7 separate regions of the Homo sapiens genome follow, and all the other regions are linked to region 4. Evidence: promoter capture Hi-C in human tissues and cell types (Jung and others, 2019). All regions are on one chromosome and are shown on one strand. The core of a region is centred on a gene start or on the middle of the fragment in contact, and the rest is flanking DNA. Distances in the headings are between cores, read along the strand shown. Region 1 overlaps RAB40C (RAB40C, member RAS oncogene family). Region 2 holds the start of WDR90 (WD repeat domain 90). Region 3 holds the start of RHOT2 (ras homolog family member T2). Region 4 holds the start of RAB11FIP3 (RAB11 family interacting protein 3). Region 5 overlaps FAM234A (family with sequence similarity 234 member A). Region 6 overlaps LUC7L (LUC7 like). Region 7 holds the start of WFIKKN1 (WAP, follistatin/kazal, immunoglobulin, kunitz and netrin domain containing 1).

Evidence for each region. The method cuts DNA at HindIII sites, captures the fragments that hold promoters and counts their contacts. A contact is called where the count stands out against the background at its distance.
Region 1: a fragment that was not itself captured here is called in contact with the fragment with the promoter of RAB11FIP3 in region 4 in 2 of the 25 tissues and cell types used here (dorsolateral prefrontal cortex and lymphoblastoid cells).
Region 2: a contact is called between the fragment with the promoter of WDR90 here and the fragment with the promoter of RAB11FIP3 in region 4, in 5 of the 25 tissues and cell types used here (IMR-90 fibroblasts, dorsolateral prefrontal cortex, lymphoblastoid cells and 2 more).
Region 3: a contact is called between the fragment with the promoter of RHOT2 here and the fragment with the promoter of RAB11FIP3 in region 4, in 2 of the 25 tissues and cell types used here (IMR-90 fibroblasts and thymus).
Region 5: a fragment that was not itself captured here is called in contact with the fragment with the promoter of RAB11FIP3 in region 4 in 7 of the 25 tissues and cell types used here (dorsolateral prefrontal cortex, hippocampus, liver and 4 more).
Region 6: a contact is called between a fragment that was not itself captured here and the fragment with the promoter of RAB11FIP3 in region 4, in 2 of the 25 tissues and cell types used here (lymphoblastoid cells and spleen).
Region 7: a contact is called between the fragment with the promoter of WFIKKN1 here and the fragment with the promoter of RAB11FIP3 in region 4, in 3 of the 25 tissues and cell types used here (dorsolateral prefrontal cortex, mesendoderm cells and small bowel).

The regions. Positions count from the first base shown.
Region 1 is chr16:599,835-603,402 of GRCh38, forward strand. All of the region lies in intron 1 of RAB40C (RAB40C, member RAS oncogene family), which reads left to right. Among named protein-coding and RNA genes, the nearest start is that of RAB40C, 12 kb to the left of the region's middle. RefSeq lists an enhancer at 1-248. The HindIII fragment of the contact is 6,657 bases long and covers 1-3,568 here.
Region 2 is chr16:647,025-650,706 of GRCh38, forward strand. WDR90 (WD repeat domain 90) reads left to right here and starts at 2,341. Exons shown (of 41, transcript NM_145294.5): 1 at 2,341-2,402; 2 at 2,739-2,830; 3 at 2,967-3,143; 4 at 3,230-3,338; 5 at 3,515-3,682. The coding sequence starts at 2,393. It overlaps MCRIP2 (MAPK regulated corepressor interacting protein 2), which reads left to right. Exons shown (of 5, transcript NM_138418.4): 3 at 393-520; 4 at 759-860; 5 at 1,096-1,450. The coding sequence ends at 1,166. It overlaps LOC105371038 (a long non-coding RNA gene), which reads right to left and starts at 2,289. Exons shown (of 2, transcript NR_135177.1): 1 at 1,931-2,289; 2 at 1,434-1,591. RefSeq lists enhancers at 906-955, 2,378-3,200 and silencers at 2,376-2,475, 2,586-2,715. The HindIII fragment of the contact is 7,525 bases long and covers 1-3,682 here.
Region 3 is chr16:666,882-669,409 of GRCh38, forward strand. RHOT2 (ras homolog family member T2) reads left to right here and starts at 1,251. Exons shown (of 19, transcript NM_138769.3): 1 at 1,251-1,355; 2 at 1,472-1,530; 3 at 1,607-1,688; 4 at 1,775-1,818. The coding sequence starts at 1,319. It overlaps WDR90 (WD repeat domain 90), which reads left to right. Exons shown (of 41, transcript NM_145294.5): 40 at 24-108; 41 at 551-949. The coding sequence ends at 708. RefSeq lists an enhancer at 962-1,643 and silencers at 1,029-1,368, 1,429-1,528, 1,629-1,718. The HindIII fragment of the contact is 52,780 bases long and covers 1-2,528 here.
Region 4 is chr16:423,481-426,898 of GRCh38, forward strand. It overlaps RAB11FIP3 (RAB11 family interacting protein 3), which reads left to right and starts at 2,169. Exons shown (of 14, transcript NM_014700.4): 1 at 2,169-3,240. The coding sequence starts at 2,527. The HindIII fragment of the contact is 17,968 bases long and covers 1-3,418 here.
Region 5 is chr16:242,643-246,005 of GRCh38, forward strand. All of the region lies in intron 1 of FAM234A (family with sequence similarity 234 member A), which reads left to right. Among named protein-coding and RNA genes, the nearest start is that of FAM234A, 9.5 kb to the left of the region's middle. The HindIII fragment of the contact is 7,678 bases long and covers 1-3,363 here.
Region 6 is chr16:191,872-195,513 of GRCh38, forward strand. LUC7L (LUC7 like) reads right to left here. Exons shown (of 10, transcript NM_201412.3): 7 at 1,056-1,144. Among named protein-coding and RNA genes, the nearest start is that of HBQ1, 13 kb to the left of the region's middle. The HindIII fragment of the contact is 8,652 bases long and covers 1-3,642 here.
Region 7 is chr16:629,056-632,659 of GRCh38, forward strand. It overlaps WFIKKN1 (WAP, follistatin/kazal, immunoglobulin, kunitz and netrin domain containing 1), which reads left to right and starts at 1,930. Exons shown (of 2, transcript NM_053284.3): 1 at 1,930-2,369; 2 at 3,527-3,604. The coding sequence starts at 2,199. It overlaps RAB40C (RAB40C, member RAS oncogene family), which reads left to right. Exons shown (of 6, transcript NM_021168.5): 6 at 1-213. RefSeq lists enhancers at 555-1,288, 814-1,108, 1,289-2,023. The HindIII fragment of the contact is 11,828 bases long and covers 1-3,604 here.

The DNA.
Region 1 (3,568 bases), core at 921-3,420, 180 kb after region 4:
TCGTGGCATCAGTCAGCGTGGATTCGCAAGGTTTTGTTCCCTCGTGGCATCAGTCAGCGTGGATTCGCAAGGTTTTGTTCCCTCGTGGCATCAGTCAGCGTGGATTCGCAAGGTTTTGTTCCCTCGTGGCATCAGTCAGCGTGGATTCGCAAGGTTTTGTTCCCTCGTGGCATCAGTCAGCGTGGATTCGCAAGGTTTTGTTCCCTCGTGGCATCAGTCAGCGTGGATTTGCAAAGTTTTGTTCCCTTGTGGCATCATACTCCTTTCCTGTTTGGTTTGGGACTCCCATGGCCCCCTTGATGTTGGAGCCTCTTCAGGTGGCACCTGCGTCCTGGGCTATGCCCTGAGTTCCCGGAGCTCCCTGTGTCCTGGAACAGTCTGTACTTCCAGCAGATGTGGGTCCTGCCTGCCCTGGAAACGGCCATCTCTCTGAAGAGCCTGTGTCCTCCTGGTGGGGAGGGATAGCTAGTATGTCAGCTTCTTAAATTACTTTATTAAAAATTGAGTATATGCAAAATAGTAGTCATAATAATAGTAATAGTAGCAAGTGCAAAGTGTAAGTAATAGAAATGGATGTCACCTAACCTGCCGAGTTTAAAACATTGTTGTTGGACTTTTTTAAAGAGCTTTGGTGCCGGATGGGCACGGTGGCTCACGCCTGTGATCCCAGCACTTTGGGAGGCCGAGGCGGGCGGATCACAAGGTCAAGAGATCAAGACCGTTCTGACCAACATGGTGAAACCCCGTCTCTACTAAAAATTCAAAAATTAGCTTGGCCTGGTGGCATGCACCTGTATTCCCAGCTACTCAGCAGGCTGAGGCAGGAGAATCGCTTGAACCTGGGGAGGCGGAGGTTGCAGTGAGCCGAGTTTGCACCACTACACTCCAGCCTGGGCGACAGAGTGAGACTCCATCTCAAAAAAATAAAAATAAGAGCTTTGGTGCCTACGTGCGTCACACAGACAGTTTAACACATAATTCATTATCAGCAAGCGGTGACTGCCCAGGTTTTGCCTGTGGGGAAACAGAAAGGTTTTGACTCCAGTCTCTGTCTTCTGAAGAGCTGGCAGTCACAACTGTGGCAGAGCCTGGTGTGTGGCAGCTGCGTGAGGCTCTCCTGGACTGCTGTGGAGGAAGGGGCCCTCTGGCACCCCAGGAGCAGCCTGCCCCTCTGTCTGCCTCTGCATTTAGACCCTTAGCCTCCTTGCAGAGCCACCTCCTGGTCATTAGCGTTAAAGCTCTTCTCTCCTGATGTAGTTTTCCTCACCGTTCAGTAAATGGGCCTGCTGCTTGTGTTTGGAACAGAGATAGAAGCTGTAGCTCCCACGTGTGTGTGGAGCTGGTTTGACTTTTAAAAAATTGTAGTACCAAAAACTATGATTTTTTGTGTGTTATCCACACCATCAAGGCTGTATCACCGAGTATCTGCTCATTCTGAAAGTGTGCATCCTTTCTGAATTGAAATGAAAGAGCAGGAGAAACCGTCTGTGTCCAGCCTGTTAGAGGTGTTACATTTGCCCTAGGTGGGCTGGGCAGAAGGCTGTTCTGCTCGGGAGCAACAGTGTCCACACGTCAGTTTCCAGAGCCCGGGTCGCCAGGATCCGGCTCAGAGTGTGAGTTTGCTCAGGTGTGTGCTGAGCACCCCTGGGTGCCAGACTCCGGGCAGGTCCCCGCCGCAGCCGCGTCAGCAGAGCAATGTGATCGTTGCTGGGACTGTTCCCCTAGTCTCAGTCAGTTCACTAGGGCCATGCATGCAGTGTTCAGACAGGAGATTCTCATGAAAAATAGAATTGTTATCCTAAAATTACATGAGAGGGAATGCTTATAAGTTTATCAAATAGTAAAACATCACAACACAGGACCGGGTGCGGTGGTGCACGCCTATAATCCCAGCTACTTGGGAAGTCAAGGCAGGCGATCCCCTGAGGCCGGGGGTTCAGACTAGGCAACGTAGCAAGGCCCTATCCCTGCAAAAAAAAGTAAAAAAAAAAAAAAAAAAAAAAAAAAAAAAGGCCGGATGCGGTGGCTCACGCCTGTAATCCCAGCACTTTGGGAGGCCGAGGTGGGTGGATCACGAGGTCAGGAGATTGGGACCATCCTGGCCAGCATGGTGAAACTCCGTCTCTACTGAAAATATAAAAGTTAGCGGGGTGTGGTGTCGGGCACCTGTAATCCCAGCTACTCAGGAGGCTGAGGCAAGAGAATCGCTTCAACCCAGGAGGCAGAGGTTGCAGTGAGCCGAGATTGCACCACTGCACTCCAGCCTGGGCAACAGCTCTCAAAACAAAACAAAAAACTACTGATTTGGAGGCACATTTAATGATTATTCAATGAAGTGTATATGCTTGATATCTTAAGTATGTAAAATAATTGTGGAATGAAATATATGACAACATTAGCAGTGGTCATCTCTGTTTTTTTTTTTTTGGTTTTGTTTTTTTTTATTAGAGAGACAGTTTCACTCTTCCAGGCTGGAGTGCAGTGATCATAGTTCACTGCAGCCTCAAATTCCAGGGTTCTAGTGATCCTCCCGCCTCAGCCTCTCAAGTAGCTAAGACCATAGGCATGCACCACAACACCTGGCTAATTTTTTAATAAATTATTTTTTTATTTTTGAGACAAAGTCTTGCTCTTGTCCACCAGGCTGGAGTGTGATGGCACGATCTTGGCTCACTGCAACGTCTGCCTCCTGGGTTCAAGCCTCTTGCCTCAGCCCCCCGAGTAGCTGGGATTACAGGCACCTGCCACCACGCCCGGCTAGTTTTTTGGTATTTTTTTAGTAGAGATGAGGTTTCACCATGTCGGCCAGGCTGGTCTCGAGTTCCTGACCTCAAGTGATCCACCCACCTCGGCCTCCCAAAGTGCTGGGATTACAGGCGTGAGCCACTGTGCCTGGCCAATAAATTATTTTTTGTAGAATTGAGGTCTTGCCATGTTGCCTAGGCTAGTGGTCTTGAACTCCTGGGCTCAAGTGATTCTCTCACCTTGGCCTCCCAAAGTGTCGAGATGACAGGTGTTAGCCACCAAGCACAGCCAGAAATGAGTCTTAAAGTGGACATGAGATTGGGGTTTAAGCCACACTAAGCTGGATTTGTAATCATTGAAAGTAATCTGAGAGCTATGGGATCTGCTCCTTAAAAGATGGGAGAGGAGAATTTTAAGAGATAGGGTCTCACTGTGTTGCCCAGGCTGGTCTTGAACCGTGGCGCTGAAGCAATCCTCCTGCCTCAGCCTCCTGAGTAGCTGGGGCCAGACCTGTGTTTTTTGTTTTCTTAATGTTCTGTGTTTAGCCAGGTGTTCTGTGCCAAGTGTGCCTGCTCTTTGTAGACACGAGAGCCCTTTTGGCTTGTTGTGGGTTTTAAGGCGTTAAGTAAAAGCTCTAGCTTCGCAGGAAACCAGTCCACAAACTGCCCTAGAATTTCTTCTGACATTTGGCATGCTGGTGTACACAGACACATTTGAAATTTGTTAGATAACTTTTCCTTCCTTTACTGTCCTCCATCAGGCAGGCGCCGGTTTGCCTGCAGTGGGGTTGGTGGACGTGGGCTGTCCTTGTCTCAGAAGACAT
Region 2 (3,682 bases), core at 1,091-3,590, 220 kb after region 4:
TCATGGACTGGGTCGTGGCTCAGGTCAGAATCTGGGCTGCTGATGGGATGCAGGTGGCAGCATGGGCACCTGCAAGACCCTCGGGGAGGGGTACTGAGTGGGGCCCGACCAAAGGTTTGGGACACTCTAAGACTGAGGCCCCCACCCTACAGTCACTCACTTCCCTCAGGACACAGGGCTGCAGGTGTGAGCTGAGCTGCCGATGGCTTGGGGACTGCAAGAGAGGCCTGGGCCACCGGCTGCTGTGGGTGGCTGCTCTCTCTGGTTCAGGAAGTGCCTAGGCTGGCCAAGTCTGGGGAAAGTGGGCTGGCCCGGGGCTGCTCCTGAGTTCTGCCAGGCAGCACCGCACCTGGGATGGGCACCAACCATGTCCGTCTCCTCCCTTCCTGCAGTCCAGGGCCAAGGCTTGTGTTCAATCGTGTGAATGGCCGGCGGGCCCCCTCCACGTCCCCATCCTTCGAGGGGACCCAGGAGACCTACACAGTGGCCCACGAGGAGAATGTCCGCTTTGTGTCCGAAGGTAGCGAGCGGGGCCAGAGGGTGCGGCATAGGCTGCTGGGTCGCAAAACCATGGACCCGGGATGGCCCCACTTCAAGCTGACCCACAGCCGCTGCATGGCTGTGCTTTTCCTTGGCACTCTGCCCTTGTGTCCTGTGACCAGCCCTGTGTGGGGCTGGAGTCCAGGGTGACCATCAGGCCCTGGGTGGGCGATGGGGTGCCTGGGACCTGGCTCAGCCCGACTGCCCTCCTCCCACAGCCTGGCAGCAGGTGCAACAGCAGCTGGATGGTGGCCCAGCCGGTGAGGGCGGGCCAAGGCCTGTGCAGTACGTGGAGAGGACCCCCAATCCCCGGCTGCAGAGTGAGCCCCCCAACCCTGTCCCCCCAGGAGAGACCCCCCAGCCCCTCTGATCCTGACCCAGGCCCTGCCAGGTTCCCACCCCAGGGGATGAGGGAGGGGACTCTTGTGCAGAAACCCCTTCTTCCCAGCGCCTGCCGCACTCGGAGTCCGGGTGAGCGGCTTGTGGTTAGCTCCAGGGGAGACTTGCCGGCTGGCCTGGGAGGCAGCATCACTGCCCAGCCTTCTCTGCCCACAGACTTTGTGCCCATTGACCTAGACGAGTGGTGGGCGCAGCAGTTCCTGGCGAGAATCACCAGCTGTTCCTAGTGGCTGCTGGGAGGGGGCGCTGCTACACGGCCGACCTGTCGCCAGGAGAGAAGCATGGCGCCCTGCCCACCCACTGCGCCTGGCTGGGTGCCGGCCACACCTGAAGTGCCAGCATTTGGACTTTTGCACCTTTTTTTCCCTTGGCCCGGCTGTCCCAACCAAGCTGCCATGGCCAAGGGCCGAACCCGTCTGACCTCAGCCCTGCTCACTGTGCCCAGGGACCAGCGACCAGCCCCTGGGGCTGGCAGGGAGGAGCTCCAGGCTAATAAAGTGGAGAAACTGTCTTTTTGGAGTGTCTTTGACTTGGGAGGGTGTAGGGGGGGTTCTCATGTCCAGTTCCAGTCCACAGCCTGGGACGCCAGGCCCAGCACAAACTCCCCTTGTAGCCCTGTTCCTTCAAGCCGTTAGCTTCTCACCCAGCTGCCCTGCGACAGGTAGGAGGGACGTTAGCCAGCCCACCTTGCTTGGAAGTCTGGGGACCCCACTTGGTTCCTCTTTCCTCTCCCGTTGGCGTTGACTGGGACCGAAGCCGAGACTCAAGGCCTAAAGACATTAAATGGCCCCGGAGTGCAGTCCACCACCCCCCACTACCGGCACTGGGGCTGTGTCTCAGAACGCCAGGTCCCATTCTGAATCCGCCGGGCCCGGCCGCAGGACACTGGGCGAAGGAGTACGTGGGGAACCTGATAGGACGAACGTGGGAACCAGCCCCTCCGCGGGCGCCCGCACTACCTTCCCTGATGGACGGGGATGACCCAGCCCACCTGAGTCAGGACCCAGGGTACCCAGGTGTGGAGCAGGGGCCTCTGGACGGCGAGAGAGCGGCAGGGTGAGGCCCGGCCGTCCGTGGCATGGCCAGGCCTCAGCGCGACCTCGCCTCGCTGCTTGCATGCGGCGGGAGCCCCGGCCGGCCGAGGCGCTGACAGGTGGGCGCGGCGGAGGATCCGCAACCGGCGCGGGCTTCGAAGCCGGTCGGGCTAACAGGGGGCTGCCTTGGGAGGCCCGCGGGGCAAAGGGCAGCGGGATTCGCGGCTGGAGCAACCCTGGAGGCCGCTGACGTGAGCGGGGTACTCCCACCGGGGAGGTCACGTGGCCAGGGCGCCGCCATGACGGCGGAAGTAATGGCGGAAGTGGCACCGTTGCCAGGCAGCCGTTGCCTGGCGTCGCGGGGCGTACTCTGCGCTGGGCGCGCGGAGGCCTAGGCGGGAAGCTCGAGCGGCGGCGCCATGGCCCGAGGTAGCGCGCGGCTGGCGGGGGTCCCGAGGATCCCGGGTTCCGGGGTTCCGGGGTCCAGGGTCGGCGGCCGGAGCGCTCAGGGCCCCCGCCTAGGCCCTGAGGCCAGAGTCCCCGCTCAGGCAGGGTCCCGTCTGCCGGGCGCCCACCCTCGGGCTCCCGGAGCTTGGCTTCCCTCGGGCGCCCGGCCTCGTCCCGCCAGCCTAGCTGGCGTTGGCGTCGCCGGGGAAGGCGCGGAGAGCCCCGGCTCCTGCCTGGTCCCCGAGGCCCGGCCCAGCCCCGCAGTGGCCCCGGCTCGCGTGGCCGAGTCCCCTGACGCCCGGCGCCCGCTCCCCGCAGCGTGGCAGCACCCGTTCCTCAACGTCTTCAGACACTTCCGGGTGGACGAGTGGAAGCGCTCCGCCAAGCAGGGGGACGTGGCCGTGGTCACGGTAGGCGGCCGGGGGCTCGCCCGGAGCCCACACCCCTGCCCTGCCCCCAGGAGAGCTGCCCCGCCCCCGAGGGCCCCCTCGCCCCCGCTGCACTTCTTCTGGGTGCTGTCGGTGATGCGGGCTCCCGCTTCTCCAGGACAAGACCCTGAAGGGCGCCGTGTATCGCATTCGGGGCTCAGTCTCTGCCGCCAACTACATCCAGCTCCCTAAGAGCAGCACCCAGTCTCTGGGGCTGACGGGACGATACCTGTATGTGCTCTTTCGGCCCCTGCCCAGCAAGCACTTCGTCATCCACCTCGATGTGTCCTCCAAGGTACGGAGCCCGCGGCTGGGGGCTGCGTGGGAGCCCCGGCACCCCTGCGGCCCCTGTCTCCTCACGGCCCTGCTCCGTCCCCACAGGACAACCAAGTCATCCGTGTGTCTTTCTCCAACCTCTTCAAGGAGTTTAAGTCTACGGCCACGTGGCTCCAGTTTCCCTTGGTCCTGGAGGCCAGGACACCTCAGAGAGGTGACACCAAGATGGGGTGTGGATGATCCAGGACAGGTGGCTGGAGGGAGTTGGTGCAGGCCCAGTGAGGCTCCTCTGCGGCCTGGAGGACAACCTGGCGGGGGCACAAGCTCACAGTTCTGGGAGTCGCGGGCTGTCAGGAGGGTGGGCGCTGACCCTGAGTGCCCATCCTGCAGATCTGGTGGGTTTGGCCCCCTCCGGAGCCCGCTGGACCTGCCTGCAGCTCGATCTGCAGGACGTTCTCCTGGTCTACCTGAACCGGTGCTACGGCCATCTCAAGAGCATCAGGCTGTGCGCCAGCCTGCTGGTCAGGAACCTGTACACCAGTGACCTGTGCTTTGAGC
Region 3 (2,528 bases), core at 1-2,500, 240 kb after region 4:
AGCCTCACGCTGGCTGCTCACAGGTGGTGGAGAAGATACCACTGCCCTTTTTTGCCATGTCCCTGAGCCTGTCCCCCGGGACCCACCTCCTGGCTGTTGGCTTTGCTGGTGAGTGCTGGTGGATGCAGTTTGGGCCTGTCTTAGGTGGGGGCCAAGTGGGCTGACTGGTGCCCTGTTCCAAGACAGGTGCCTCACCTGTGCCCCGGGCTCCTCGTCTCTGGGGTGGGGTGAGGACATCTGCCCTAGAGAGGGTCCTGGAGTCAGGAGATGATGAGGCAGGTGAGGAACCAGGCACAGCGCCCAGCACAGGGCCTGAATGCACGGGTGGCAGCGACTTTTAAGGAGGGAACTGGCCCAGCTGCAGGCCGACAGCCTGGCAGTGATGGACCCCCTAGTCCCAGTGGCACGTGGAGGGCACAGCCAGGAGCCCTTTTAGCACCAGCTCCCCCGACCAGCATCATGCCCAGTGGGGACAGTCTGGGTGGGTTGGGGGAGCCCTCTGAGTGCTGCCTGGTCCTGGCCCTGGCCCACCTGCACCGTCTACCCACAGAGTGCATGCTGAGGCTGGTAGACTGTGCCATGGGGACTGCCCAAGACTTTGCCGGCCACGACAACGCAGTGCACCTGTGCAGGTTTACACCGTCCGCCAGGCTGCTCTTCACGGCCGCCCGCAACGAGATCCTTGTGTGGGAGGTCCCCGGCCTCTGAGATGCAGCAGGGACTGTGGTGGTGGGCATCACGCCTGGTCATGCCAGGCACCTGGACACAGGCTTGGCAGAGGCGCCAGGTTGTCAATGGCCTCATGCTGGGACAGGCCAGGATTCACGTAAATCGCCTGGAGCAAGCTGTTGTAAATTTGGCGCCCTGTGAATACTTTCATACCTGTTGCCCTTTTGCCTAAGAAATCTTTAATGTTTCTATCTTGTAATAAACATGGGCATTTATTGCATTATTGCTGCATTGTTGCACTGGCTGTCTCTGGTCACTCCTGGCCTGAGCTCAGCCTCTGCCCGTCCCTTAATCGGCTGTTTGTCAAGGCCCCTGTGGTGCCGTGAAGCAATGGCCGCTCGGCCTGCCAGGGCGCCAGGACCCTGCGCTGTCCGCCGTGGCCGGCGCGTCCACACGGTGGCGCGCCGCACAGCCTGTCCGCTCTGGCCCGCCCGGCTCGCTGGTGCGGCTGTGCGGGCGGGGCCGGAAGTGTGGGGACAGCGCGGGGCCGAGAACCGGAAGTGCGGGGCGGGCGCGGGGGCAGAGCGAAAGGCTTGAGGACCAGGTCGGGGCCGGGTTCCGGGTCGGGGAGCGGCTCCGGGCGGCAGCTATGAGGCGGGACGTGCGCATCCTGTTACTGGGCGAGGGTAGGCGCCGGCCCGGGGGTCTCGGAGCTGCGGCGGCCGTGAGGCGGGGTGAGGGTCTCGGGGGTCGGGGGGCGCCGTGACCTTGGCCCTCGCGCTGACCGCCTCGCCCCGCGCAGCCCAGGTGGGGAAGACGTCGCTGATCCTGTCCCTGGTGGGCGAGGAGTTCCCCGAGGAGGTAAGGGGCACGCCCGCCGCGGGGGTGGGAGCGGGCCCAGCCGGGGGTCCCTGGTGAGCGCGCGGGTCCCTTGCAGGTCCCTCCCCGCGCGGAGGAGATCACCATCCCCGCGGACGTCACCCCGGAGAAGGTGCCCACCCACATCGTGGACTACTCAGGTAGCGGCCGTAGCCTCCCGGGGGCCCGGCCCGCAGCGGTCCGGCGGGCCTGCTGGGTCCGCAGTGGAGTCTCTTTGTCCCCCTAGAAGCCGAGCAGACGGACGAGGAGCTGCGGGAGGAGATCCACAAGGTACCCGTGGTGCGCGGGACGAGGGAGGGGCTGGGCGCGGGCTCGGCCTAATCCGCTTCGCAGCCTGGGGGATTGGACCGAGGTGCTCCGGGTGTCCTTGGCCCTGATAATTCTGTGACCTCCGCACTGAGGGTTGTCGGGGCCCCTACAGCGCACCCCGCTGGGAGCCGGCACCGCTCAGTCCAGTGGTGCTCCAGGGATAACAGGACCCTTCCCCGCGGGCTCTCCCTCCCTCCTGCCGGGGTGGCAGCAGCGTTTGCTCTTCCTGTGGGCTCTGTGTGCGCCACGTCCCCGTGCTGTGTGCTCCAGCCCACCGTCCCGGCCTCCGGGCACCCGGAGCTCCCAGTACCAGAGCACGTGTGCCGGGGACATCTCCAGGCAAGGGCACAGGCCACAGCCACCCAGGGCAGCCCCTGCTGTTGGCACCCCTCACTGCGGTCCTGTCACTCTGTCTGTAGCGAGGGGGGAGGCAGGGGCCAAGGCGGCGGCTGTCTTGCAGGGTGTTGGGTTGCAGGTGTGGCCGTGTCTGTCCTGAGCCCTCTGCTCCAAGGGTCTTGCTGACCACAGTTATGCTTCTGGGGCCTGGTGTCCCTGCACTGGCAGTGGGCGGGGAAGAGGCTTCTCTGAGGGTTCAGCAGCAGCTCCCAGTGTGACACTGGGGAGTGCCTGCTCTGCCAACACCAGGCTGGAGGCAGGTTTTAGGGAAGGCT
Region 4 (3,418 bases), core at 919-3,418:
TTATTTTGGAGACGGAGTCTTGCTCTATCATCCAGGCTGGAGTGCAATGGTGCAATCTTGGCTCGCTGCAAGCTCTGCCTCCCGGGTTCACGCCTTTCTCCTGCCTCAGCCTCCCAAATAGCTGGGACTACAGGTGCCTGCCACCACACCTGGCTAATTTTTGTTTTTTTGTATTTTTAGTAGAGACGGGGTTTCACCGTGTTAGCCAGGATGGTCTCCATTTTCTGACCTCGTGATCCGCCCGCCTCAGCCTCCCACAGTCCTGGGATTACAGGCATGAGCTACCACACCTGGCCTAAGGTGGGAGGATCTCTTGAGCCTAGGAGGTTGAGGCTGCCGTGAGCTATGGTCGCACCACTGCACTGCAGCCTGGGCAACAGAGCAAAACCCTGTCTCGGGGAAAAAAAAGAAAAGAAAAGAAAAGAAGGAACTGCTACAGCCCACAGCCTACAAAGGGGACACAGATAGTAGCTCTGAACAGCAGACGGATAGACGGGAACTTGTCCCTTTAGTCTTTCATGAACAGCCTCTAACTGGTCCAGGCAGGGAGGTGCAGGCTTCCAGGCTGTGGTTCCATGGAGGACACCAGCCGGGCACGCAATGGACGTTTTCCAGCCCTAGCACAGACAGAGCGTGCGGGCCCCTGCTCTCAGAAAGCCAGCCTTCTGCCTCTGGCAGCGCCGGCACATAAAAGCAGAGGGAGCCTGCTGTCTCTGCCTCGCCCACACTAACACCCCTATTTAGAAAGGTTGACACATCACTATCACTGCTTCTGAAAATTTTATCCGGCCGAAGGCATCAGCCCAAATTTGAATTCTTGCCAAAGCTGCTGGTGATTTCGTTCTTTGAATGCAGTATCTTCCTCATGAACACGTACAGCTCTTACAAGAAAATGAGAATACGGTTTGGGGAGGAGGATCCCTCACATTCCTTTTCCTAATGCCAGCCTCGCGAAGTCTGGTCCCATGTACCCTGGGATTCTGCCACGGAAGATGACTCACTTAATTAACACGCTGCTCCTGACCGTACACTTGGAAGCAGAGGTTCCGTTCCTTTGGTTCTTGCCAAAGCTGCTTACGAAACCATATCTTGTGTTGGTGCCCATGGTGTGTAAAAATACAAGTTCATCATTTCCCTGATACAAATTATGACAGGCTAAATTTAGTGCCTCACCTGTCCTAACTAGCTTTCCCACCATCATGCCTGCCGCCGGGCTGTGGTCCTTTCTGAGGTCCCGTGTCCCTCTGAGGACAGGGACACCCAGACACAGAGGTCAGTTGTCAGACGCGGCCACGGTGCTCGGGAGGCTGGCTGCAGACGGGCGATTCACCCTGGGTGTCTTCTTGAGTCTTATTTTTTGTAGAGACGAGGTCTCGCTTTGGTGCTCAGGCTGGTCTCAATCTCCTGGGCGCAAGCGATCCTCCCGCTTGGGCGTGGGCCAGCGCGCCCGTCCCAACGCTGGGAGTCCCGGAGATCTTGGTCACAGGCTTAAGGGAAAGGCCTAGCGCGTGGCCGCGCGTGCCTCTGGTTTCAAGGGACATGGACTGCGTGTCTGGGGCCCCTCCGCACTCCGTGTCAGACCCTGCGTCCCCCGGGTCCGCGCGGGACCCGGGCAGGGCGTCGCCCTCTGCGGCGTCTGCGCCCCGCGAACCCTGGGGCACCTGCAACCCCTGGGCCGCGGAGCCAGGCGTGCGCCGCCTCCTGGTCTCATCAACGTGAGAACGCTTTACCCCCGAAGAGCTCAGCTCCTAGGGGGCTATGTCCCTTTGCGTCTCTCGCTCGCCAGGCGGTGCCGTTTACTCGACCGCACCATGCGTGGGTAGCGGTCGCGCCCGCTGGTAGCTGTGCGGCGGGAACACGTTCTAAGTAAGGCCTGACTCCGCGCGCCTCTTGCCAGGGACGTCACGTCACGCCTCCACTCGCAGCCTCGGAGCACCCCCGCGTCCCGCGCCCGAAGCTCGGGACCCCCGCTCTGGCGAAACGAGGAATATGACATACAGCAAAACACCCCTTCGCGGCCGCTGCACTGCCGCGACACACCCGGCGCCTGCCTCTACAGCAAGCCGGCGAGGGGCTGGGACCCCGCCGGGACGTGCTGACGTCAGGCCCGACGGGGGGCGGGGCCTGGGCGGCGGCGGCGTTAGTTCTCCGGGTACCTCAGGCGCCTCAGCCTCCTTAGTCTCCTCATCCTGCTTCACAGGCTCCGCGGCCTCCGGCCTCCTCGGCCCCCGTCCCCCGGCCTCCTCGGCCCCCGTCCCCCGCCATCCGCCGCCCGGATCCTCGCCGCCCTCCCTAGGCCGCCCCGCCGCCATGGGCCTGCGCCCGCCGCGCCGCCGGGCCGAGGGCAGCTGAGGCGCGGTGCGAAGATGGGCGAGGACAGAGCAGGGCCCGAGCGCCAGCCCCAGCAGCCCGGGCGCCCCGCGCGCGCCCGCCCGCGCCGCCGAGGGGATGCCCGCGCCCGCCGCCGCGCCCTGAGCGCCTTTGTCTGCCGCCCGCGCCCTTCCGCACCACTAGCCTCTCGGGAGCATGGCGTCGGCCCCGCCGGCCTCGCCCCCGGGCTCGGAGCCGCCGGGGCCCGACCCGGAGCCGGGCGGGCCGGACGGGCCGGGGGCGGCACAACTGGCTCCGGGCCCTGCGGAGCTACGCCTCGGAGCGCCCGTCGGCGGCCCCGACCCGCAGTCCCCGGGCCTGGATGAGCCTGCGCCCGGGGCCGCTGCAGATGGCGGGGCGCGTTGGAGCGCCGGGCCGGCCCCGGGGCTGGAGGGAGGCCCGCGAGACCCCGGGCCGTCCGCCCCGCCGCCGCGCTCCGGCCCGCGGGGGCAGCTTGCGAGCCCCGACGCCCCGGGCCCAGGGCCGCGCTCCGAAGCGCCGCTTCCAGAACTCGACCCGTTGTTCTCCTGGACTGAGGAGCCCGAGGAGTGTGGCCCCGCGAGCTGCCCGGAGAGCGCGCCTTTCCGCTTGCAGGGGTCCAGCAGCAGCCACCGAGCGCGGGGCGAGGTCGACGTCTTCTCTCCCTTCCCCGCGCCCACGGCGGGCGAGCTGGCGCTGGAGCAAGGTCCCGGGTCCCCGCCGCAGCCCTCGGACCTCAGCCAGACCCACCCCCTTCCGAGCGAGCCCGTGGGGAGTCAGGAGGACGGCCCCCGCCTCCGAGCCGTGTTCGATGCCCTGGACGGGGATGGGGACGGTTTCGTCCGCATCGAGGACTTCATCCAGTTTGCTACGGTCTACGGGGCAGAGCAGGTACGGAGCGGCCCGGGCCGGGGCGTGGGAACTGGGCAGGTGCGCGCTGGCCGGCGGGGTTGATGTGGGACCGGTCGACGCTGCCCCTGGAGTCGGGAAAGGCACTGTCAAGACCTGACGGTCCTGCTTTTTCTGCTTATTCACCACTTCGGCCCTGGATTTCTGGTTGAATTGCGCT
Region 5 (3,363 bases), core at 501-3,000, 180 kb before region 4:
CGCTCTGTCGTCCAGGCTGGAGTGCAATGGCGCTATCTCAGCTCACTGCAACCTCTGCCCCCCGGGTTCAAGCGATTCTCCTGCCTCAGCCTCCTGAGTAGCTGGGATTACTGATGCACATCACCACGCCTGGTTAATTTTTTGTATTTTTAGTAGAGATGGAGTTTCACCATGTTGGCCAAATTGGTCTCGAACTCCTGACCTTGCGATCCACCCACCTCAGCCTCCCAAAGTGCTGGGATTACAGGCGTGAGCTACCACGCCCATCCCGTGTCAGGTCTTTTACCTTAATTAATACGTATTGTATTGACAAATTTTCTTTTCTTTCTGAGCCCTCACTTTTTTTTTTTTTTTTGAAACAAGGTCTCACTCTGTTGCCCAAACTGGAATGTAGTGATAATGATCACAGCTCACTGCAGCCTCAACCTCTTGGGCTCAAGCTAACCTCCCACCTCAGCCTCCCAGGTAGCTGGGACTACAAGCACATGCCACTACACCTAATTTTATTTTACTTTTTGTAGAGATGGGGTCTCCCCATGTTGCCCAGACTGGTCTCGAACACCTGGCCTCAAGTCATCCTCCTGCCTCAGCCTCCCAAAGCACTAGGATTATAGGCGTGAACCACCCTGCCCGGCCATGAAGTTAAATTTTTGGTTATTAGCTTGTTGAGTTCTGTTTTCTGTTTTTTTAAATAGCCACATGGCCTGACTCTCTGTGGTCAATGGTATGGATGCTAAAGTAGAGCAAGGACAGTGCCCTGCTCAAGTCTCTCTGACCTGGGTCCATGGGGATTTTCTCTGCCAGTCAGGTTCCTGAAGCTCTGGCTACGGCTCCTGGTATTTTTAATGACCGCAGTAGAGAAAAACATTGGTATCTTCTTGCTGTTGATGAGCAAATCTTTGGACCTGTCTCATGGTGTCTTTATTTGCAAACTGGTTGAATCATGAACTGCCTGGCTTTGGCTGCCTTGCCGTTGTGGCTTTTAATAACTACCCCTATTTCTGGTGGCTCAGTCAAGTTTCCAAAAAGGAAGTCTTACCTGGAGATCCTGTGAAGGAATTCCTGACCAGCTTTTTAATTTTCCAAAGACAGGCCTTATTCGTGTTAAACACACACCCCTTTTCTGTGGCCAGGCCGGTGTGAAAGCATGTGCAGAGGCTGTATAGCAGTAAGAGTTCCCACCCCTTGGGGCATTTTCATTGTCACCACATTGTCTGACTTTGGAGACGACCCCTTTTAAACTCTGGCATTTGCTCAGGTAAGTATTTGGGGAGTATTGTTATAAATGCTGTGCATATCCGTTTTTTCCCCACAGTGGAAAGGAAAATGATTTTTTTTTTTTTTGAGTCGGAGTCTTGCTCTGTCACCCAGGCTGGAGTGCAGTGGTGCCATCTCGGCTCACTGCAACCTCCGCCTCCCAGGTTCACACCATTCTCCTGCCTCAGCCTCCTGAGTAGCTGGGACTACAGGCACCCGCCACCACGCCCGGCTAATTTTTTCTATCTTTAGTAGAGATGGGGTTTCACCGTGTTAGCTAGGATGGTCTCGATCTCCTGACCTTGTGATCCACCCGCCTTGGCCTCCCAAAGTGCTGGGATTACAGGCGTGAGCCACCGCGCCCGGTCGGAAAATGATTTTAATGGATGGTTTTGAGGAAGCTGGTGATTATTTTGTAATGGAGAATTGTAACATGCCAGGGGTTTGGCTCTTCTTTCAGTATTTCTTCAGGCTACCACAAAACTCCACTATTGATATTCTTCCAAAAATAAACAAAACACTAAAAGGACTCCTGCCTTTGGAACAAAATAGCTTCATATTAAGGTAGCTTTGAGGCACAAACCAAGCTGCCTGTGGAGAAGCTGGTTCTTCCTCTAAAACTTACATGAACCTCTGACCCCACTCCCCCTTACTAACGGTTTTCTTTTCTCTTTTGATTTTCTATTTTATACTTTTTATTTTGGACTACTTATAGATTCACAAAATGTTGTAAAAATAGCACAGGGCTGGACCCTGAAGTCTGCTTCCCTGAATGGTAACCTCTTTTTTTTTTTTTTTTTTTTTTTGAGACGGAATTTTGCTTTTGTTGCCCAGGCTGGAGTGGAATGGCACGATCTTGGCCACTGCACCCTCTGCCTCCCAGGTTCAAGTGATTCTCCTGCCTCAGCCTCCCGAGTAGCTGGGATTACAGGCATGCACCACCACGCCCGGCTAATTTTTTTTTGTATTTTTAGTAGAGATGGGGTTTCTCCATGTTGGTCAGGCTGGTCTCAAACTCCCGACCTCAGGTGATCTGCCCGCCTCAGCCTCCCAACGTGCTGGGATTACAGGCATGAGCCATCGCGCTCGACCAATAACTACCATTTCAAATTCCCACGACTATTGTACTGCAGACCTGTTATCGTATATTCTCACCAACACATTTTAAAATGCTTAACTTTTAGGCTGGGCGTGGCCCACACTTTGGGAGGCTGAGGCAGGCAGATCACTTGGGCCCTGGAGTTTGAGACCAGCCTGGGCAACGTGGCGAAACTCTGTCTCTACAAAAAATACAAAAATTTGCCCGGCGCGGTGATGCACACCTGTGGTCCCAGCTACTTTATAGGCTGAGGTGGGAGAATCTCTCGAACCCAGCAGGAGGAGGTTGCAGTGAGCCTAGATCACCACTGCCCTCCAGCCTGGGCCACAGAGTGAGACCCTGTCTCAAGATCAGATAAAATGAAATGCTTAACTTTTGTTAATGTCATTGGTCCTGCTGTGTCTATGAGTGAGACTGAGTGTGTTTCCCCTGGGCACCGGCCACTGGCGTGTGCTCTTCAGTGAACTGCCCAGTTATGAATTCGTTTCCTGTTTCCCCACTGGGGTCCTTGCCTTTCTTTTGTGGGTTTGTGAAAACCCTAAGAATATTTATCCTGGTTTGTTTTGTGGAGCTAACAACAATCTTTTGGCTTCCCTGGGCCACGTTGGAAGAATTGTCTTGGGCCACACATAAAGTACACTAACACTAATGATAGCTGATGAGCTGAAAAAAAAAAATTGCAAAAAAATCTGTGAATGTTTTAAGAAAGTTTCTGAATTTATGTTAGGCCACACTTCAAGCCATCCTGGGCCGAGGGTTGGACAAGCTTGGGTTAGACATTTCATAATATATTTAGTTCATCAGTGTTTTTCTTAATGATTTCCACCTTTGGGGTCATGCGTTCAAGACTTTCCCTAACAATACATAAACATTCTCTTCTATTTTCTTTTAGTTTAATGTTTGTTAAAAATAATGTTTACATTTTTGGCCAGGCGCAGTGGCTCACGCCTGTAATCCCAGCACTTTGAGAGGCTTAGGTGGGCAGATCACGAGGTCAGCAGTTCTAG
Region 6 (3,642 bases), core at 90-2,589, 230 kb before region 4:
GAGTTATGCACTGAGGAATTATTTCAGGAAAAGTGGTTTGGGAACCTTCCTGGACAATGAGCTGTCTCCAGGAGGATGTGGATACTTCTGGCTCCTACCTCTTTGAACTCCAAACAGACTCAACAGCCCCACCTCAAGATGGCCTCTCAAGCTGAGTGTGGCCAGAGGCATCTTCTACTTCCCACCTCCTCCCACTCCAATACACCACACCCAGCCTTCCAACCTCACCAAGCAGCAACTCCGGGCCAGAAACCAGGAGACCAGCTTCATTTCCTCCTCTGCACGCTTCACACACTACCAGCAAATCCCATCAGTTCTATCCCAGAACTTTCCCCGACTCCTTGCACCCCTTACCTGGCTTAAACTGCCACCTCCTCCATCTGGATTTTCCCACCTAGCTCCCCAAGGTCCTGCTGCTTCTACTCCAGCCCAGCACGCTTGCCAAAGGGGAGCAGGCACCACCCCTCCTGCGTAAACAGGTGTCCAATGGCCCCATAGCACTCAGTAAGTAAACAGCAGTGCCCACACACAGCCTCCAACAGCTTGGATCCCTTACCTGACTGCCATGCACACACAGTCCTGCGCTGGGACGTGTTTTGTTTTGTTTTGTTGGACTGAATATGCTGTTTACTTTTTTTTTTTTTTTTTTTGGTTGAGATGGAGTCTCTGTTGCCCAGGCTAGAGTGCAGTGGCACGATCTCGGCTCACTGCAACCTCTGCCTCCCGGGCTCAAGTGATTCTCCCACCTCAGCCTCCGAGTAGCTAGGATTACAGGCTCATGCCAGCACGCCCAGCTAATTTCTGTATTTTTAGTAGAGACAAGGTTTCACCATGTTGGCCAGGCTGGTCTCGAACCCCTGACCTCAAGTGTTCTGCCCGCCTCAGCCTCCCAAACTGACAGGATTACAGGCGTGAGCCGCCAGGCCTGGCCTTACTATTTTCTTTTATAACGGCCTATTGGGCAGGCCCTGCCTATTCCAAGCAACAGTGGAATGGACCGAGCAGGGAATGCCCGAGGCCAATGCAGGCCATCCAGTGCCAGCCCTCAGGCTCACCTCCTGCTCAGACGCTCCTCCCGTTCCCTCTCCTCTCTCCTCCTCAAGCGATCCTGATTTCTCTTCTCCTGCTTTTCAGCGACAGTTTTCTAAATAAATGAAACAAAAAATGAGGAAGAGCAAGTTACACAAACCAGAGTGTGAATGCTACTTAACAAATCACCTTTATATGAGCTCAGTATTGGTAATTTAAAAATTGAAGGGACACTTTTAGGAAATGGGAATACTTTTTTTTTTCTCTTTGAAACGGTGTCTCACTGTCACCAGGCTGGAGTGCAGTGGCGTGATCTCGGCTCACTGCAACTTCCACCTCGAGTTCAACCTATTCTTCTGCCTCGGCCTCCCAAGTAGCTGGGATTACAGGCACATGCCACCACACCCAACTAATTTTTGTATTTTTAGTAGAGATGGGGTTTCACCATGTTGGCCAGGATGGTCTTGATCTCTTGACCTTGTGACCCGCCTGCCTCAGCCTCCCAAAGTGCTGGGATTACAGGCATGAGCCACCGCGCCCGGCCAACACATTCATTTTTAAAACTTCTTAATGAAGAAGATAACACATGAAAAAATGCTTTATCATTACATTTTTTTTTCCTGAGACAGAGTCCGCCCTGTTGCCCAGTGCAGTGGCGCGATCTTTGCTCACTGAAGCCTCTGCCTCCTGGGTTCAAGCGATTCTTCTGCCTCAGCCTCCTGAGTAGCTGGGATTACAAGCGTGCCAGCACGGCCGGCTAATTTTTGTATGTTTAGTAGAGACGGGGTTTCACCATGTTGGTCTGGCTTGTCGCAAACTCCTAACCTTGTGATATGCCTGCCTCGGCCTCCCAAAGTGCAGCAATTACAGGCGTGAGGCACTGCACCCGGCCTCGTTTACATTTACTTTTTTTTTTTTTTTGAGACGGAGTCTCGCTCTGTCACCCAGGCTGGAGTGCAGTGGCGCAATCTCGGCTCGCCGCAAGCTCCGCCTCCCGGGTTCACGCCATTCTCCTGTCCTGGCCTCCGGAGTAGCTGGGATTACAGGCGCCCGGCACTGCGCCCGGCTAATTTTTTGTATTTTTAGTAGAGACAGAGTTTCACCATGTTAGCCAGGATGGTCTCGATCTCCTGACCTCACGATCCGCCCGCCTCGGCCTCCCACAGTGCTGGGATTATAGGCATGAGCCACCGCGCTTGGCCACTTTTTTTTTTTTGAAACAGGGTCTTGCTCTGTCCACCCAGGCTGGATGGAGTGCAGTGGCGCAATCACAGCTCACCGGAGCCTTGACCTCCCAGGCTCAAGCAAGCCTCTTTAGCTCCGCCTCCTGAGTAGCTGGGACTATAGGCGTGTGCCACCATGGCAGACTAATCTTTAAACATTTTTTATGGAGATGGAATCTTGCTATGTTGCCCAGGCTGAGCTTGAACTCCTCAACTCAAGCAATCCTCCTGCCTTGGCCTCCCAAAGTGCTGGGGTTACAGGCCTGAACCACCCAGCCTATCATTAGATTTTAACAATGTGGTAACAAACTGTCTATTCTAAGTGGTGCTATACTTCTAACTCACAGGGAATTGATCACATTGTTTCAAACCAACCCAGATAGGTAGGAGACTGTACAAACTTTATGGTAAAAAAGGACGGATGTATCTCATCAAACACATCTTGCTACTGGGAGCAGAATCCCTACAGCCAAAAAGCAGCCCAACCTCAGGGTGCTGGGTGCTACGCTGGCTTTAGAACAAACTGAGTTGGAGGACAGCAGGCCAGGGGAGGTGGACCACAAATCCTCTGCAACTGGCTTTCAACACAGGATGATGTGAATCATCAGGCTTGATGAAGAAAGCAATATAAGGGGATGAGAAACCTCGCCAATGAAAATACCGTCAACACAAGCTGAGTGGAAAAGCACCGGGCACCGTTCTGTATACCCACTACTCCCAATATCAACTCTAAGACATTTAATGCCCCTCATCTGTGTCAAGTGAAGCCCTGAGTGGGAGCAAGTCAGAGCCAGTAAGACAAAGAATCACGAGTCTTCTCCATCCAGAGAGCCACGATGGCATAAGGATAATCTTCCATACCCAGTGTGGATGAGAGCACGCTCCCCACAAGGGCACGGAAAGTATGCAGAGCTGGGTGACTGGTATCTCCAGCTCTAAACTTTCACCCATGCTCATCCTGTGTCTGAAGCAGGGCACACATGGATGGACACCTTTAAGGTGATGTTTAAGGATGGCATTTAAGCCAGGTACGGTGGCTCATGCCATTTCAGCACTCTGGGAGGCTGAACTGGGAGGATCATGTGAGGACAGGAGTTTGAGACCAGCCTGGGAAACATAGTAAGACCTCCTACCTAAAAAAAAAAAATGAGCCAGATATGGTGGTGCATGCCTGTAGTCTCTGCTACTCAGGAGACTCAGGATGCAGGGCCACTTGAGTCCAGGAGTTCCAGGTTACAGTGACAATAAGCTATCAGCTACCATCACATCAGTACACTCCACCCTGGGTGCCAGAGGGAGACCCTGTCTCTGAAAAAAAAAACGAAAAAAATCCTCTGTTGTCTAGGTTGGAGTGTAGTGTCGTGATCACAGTTCACTGCAGCCTTGAGCT
Region 7 (3,604 bases), core at 680-3,179, 210 kb after region 4:
CTCCTGCTCCAGCTTCCCTGTCCTGGCCCCACCTGTCCTGTTGCTGCCAGCAGGGCCCTTGTTTGGGATTATGAACAAACCTCACAGACTTTGAGGACCTGGATGGTCCTGCATTCACGGCATCAACACTACCCGCGCTGCTGTTAGACACTCCGCCATTCCTGGTTCTCTCCGAACCGTTCTTTGTACAGTAAATGTAATTCAGCTGTGGTCCCCACGTTTTGCTGTGTCTGGTGGGGTGGGTCTGGCAGTGGCGGTGCCCCGTGCCAGGGGCCAGTGCTGCTTCATACCCGGCAAACTGACCTCTGGCCTTTGTTTTGCCTGCTGTTCCCTGCGCTGACCGGGCTGACCTGCCGCGGTTGGCTGGGTTCGCCTCAAAGTGAGGGCTGGAGCTGGGCTGGAGCAGCTGGGCCTGGTCACGGCCATTCTCCTCTTCCCGGTGGATGGAATCCCAGCTGGGCTGTGCTGAGCCCTCGCTCACAGTCCCCGGCAGCAGATGGCCTGGGGCGGACTGTCCCCAACAGCAGCAGGACTCCAGAGGGCCAGGTCCTCCAGTCAGTCGGCCCGCTCAGCAGAGCCGCCTGCACGCTGGCCAATCTGGTGTCTGCTATGCCCGGCCCAGGGGGGTGTGGACGCCCCGGAGGTCACAGCTGAGCTGGAACGGGGCACTCCAGTTGGTACAGGGACCAGACCACAGCCTCTGGCTCAGGTGCCTCCCTGTGCTGTTTCGTGGGCATGTCCGGGCCTTAAGCCCCTCCCTGGCAGCTCCAGCCCAGCCGCCTGCTGCTGGGTCTGGCCTAGCTACCCCCACCCCCACGCTATCAGGGCCCACCCCCAGTCTCCTTGTAGAGCAGGGACTGGCGCCTGGAGCCGTCTCCGGGTCTCATTCTGACCAGACCAGGCTCCTGTTACCCTGCCTCCTGGGTCAGAGGTCAGACACAGGGTCAGGGGGACACTCCCATCCGGTCTCAAGAGAACCACTCCCTGAGGCCCCAGACATCTGGAGCCACAGAGGGTTTGGAAGGGTAGATTCCAGGCAGCCTTTTGTCCTGCTGCACCAGGCAGGCCAGCCCCCTGCCCTCCCCAACGAAGAGGAGCCAGCCTGGGGATGTGTGCCCCGCCGACGGGGGGCTGGGGCAGGGCAAGGCTCTGGTGCCCTGGGACACTTGCTCTTTTCAGCTGCAGACGCCCTTGCACTTGGCCTTCCCTCGGGCGGTGCCATCCCACGCGGAGCCACGTCCAGGGCTACACGGTGCGTGGGCCGAGGCTCCGGCATCAGCGTTTCGGGCTGTTCTTATGCTTGTGGTGGCCACAGGCCTCTTCCTGCTGCACCTGCCCCGCCTTGGGGACAGGCCTGAGCCCCAAGCCCGCTGCCTGGTTTCAGGGATGGGGTCTCTGGGAATGCAGTCCTGCCGGGTTGGGCCCCACTCCAACAGGGGCAGCAGAGCAGAGGAGGCCGGGCTGTGCTGGGCGTCCTGCAGACCCCTGTGCCCCTGAAACAGCCATGGAGGGGGGAAGGAACCTCGGAGCGGAGTGAAGCCCTCGGCCGCACGTGACCGTTGCCAGCCTGGACCTGGCCCGGGGGACCCAGGCTGTGGTCAGCCACGCTCTGCGGGGAGGGCCCGTGCCTGCCACCCCCATGGCATAGGAGCCTGGGGTCCAGAGGGCGCCAGGGACAAAAGCTGGGATCTGCTGGCCCTGCCCCCACCCTACTGAGGGTCGTCAAGGAGATTGATCTCAGCCCAGGGGTGGACGAAGGGGTTCAGGTTACAGGGTCCCCTCCCCTCCCCCTCTCCAGCCAGAGCCAGCCCTTCCCCGCCCCGGTGACCCTCATGGCCAGTGGCTCTGTGCTCATGGGCCTCTGGCCCCTCCCCAACCTCCTCCCCTCTGCCCTGTGCTGACCAGGGCCTGGGAGCCCCCGCACGGTTCAGACAGAGGGGCCAGGCTGAAGCTGGAGAGGAACCAGCGTCACACAGACGGCCTCTGAGAACTTGGAGACCCCGTTACCCACCCAGCAGGGGTGTCAGGACAAGCATCTGCTGCAGGCTTCAGCCTCAGGGGCAAAAGGGAGCCCCGGGGTCCTGGTGGGGGCACCGACCACAGGCCCGGAGGGTGGATGCCTGCAGGAAGCTGGGCTCTGTGGAGCCCGAGGAGGGGCTGGTGGCCACACCCCCCGGCCCCCTGGCTCGGCGGCCCTCATGCCCGCCCTACGTCCACTCCTGCCGCTCCTGCTCCTCCTCCGGCTGACCTCGGGGGCTGGCTTGCTGCCAGGGCTGGGGAGCCACCCGGGCGTGTGCCCCAACCAGCTCAGCCCCAACCTGTGGGTGGACGCCCAGAGCACCTGTGAGCGCGAGTGTAGCAGGGACCAGGTGAGTGTGGTCGGGCCGGGGTCCTGGGGCTCAGAGCAGCCAGCCTGGGCAAGACCCTGCTGGAGGTGCCACCTTCTGCCTGGGCTCCCCAGACTTCTGGGGGGTCTGGGTCTGGGCCCCTTAAGGGGCCCAGAGACACCCCCATCGTTGCCCTCATTTGTCTTAAGAATAAGAGCCCTCCCCACTCCAGCTTTCATGCTCCCCATGTGCCTCCACCCTGGGGCACCATCATCCTCGGCGACCACCCCCACCCCGTCACTGCCTCTCCTCCCACCCTCTCCTCCCACCCTCTCCTCCCATCCACTTCTCCCACCCCTTCACTGCCTCTCCTTCCATCCTCTCCTCCCACCCTCTCCTCCCATCCACTCCTCCCATCCACTTCTTCCATCCTCTTCTCCCACCCCGTCACTGCCTCTCCTTCCATCCTCTCCTATCCACTCCTCCCATCCACTTCTTCCATCCTCTTCTCCCACCCCATCACTGCCTCTCCTTCCATCCTCTCCTATCCACTCCTCCCATCCACTTTTTCCATCCTCTTCTCTCACCCCGTCATTGCCTCTCCTTCCATCCTCTCCTCCCATCCACTTCTCCCACCCCTTCACTGCCTCTCCTCCCACCCTCTCCTCCCATCCACTCCTCCCATCCACTCCTCCCATCCACTTCTTCCATCCTCTTCTCCCACCCCGTCACTGCCTCTCCTTCCATCCTCTCCTCCCACCCTCTCCTTCCATCCTCTCCTCCCACCCTCTCCTTCCATCCACTGTCCTCCCTGTCCTCCCACCCTCCTTCCATCCGGGACCAGTGCAGATGGTGGTGGGGGTGCTGCAGCCGATGTCCAGCCTTTGTCCTGGCCCGCACCACCTGCTGGGTGGTCCTGAGCACTGTACGCCCTCCTTGGGCCTCAGTTTCCTCGTCTGTACAACGTAAAGAATAACGGAACTTGCTTGTGGGTGTGAGGATTCTGGAAGGTAAGCCAGGTGGCACCTCTGGCGAGGTGGCTCCTCACACAGGATGGAAAGGACACTGAGTCCCCGGGGAGGCAGCCACAGAGCGGGGGGCTCCCTGCTACCCCACCTGGGCCTCCCCTTGCAGGGGCCAGGCCAGAGCCCCGGGGCGGGGGGCATTGGGGCTCCCACCTAAGTGTCCCCCATCCCCAGGACTGTGCGGCTGCTGAGAAGTGCTGCATCAACGTGTGTGGACTGCACAGCTGCGTGGCAGCACGCTTCCCCGGCAGC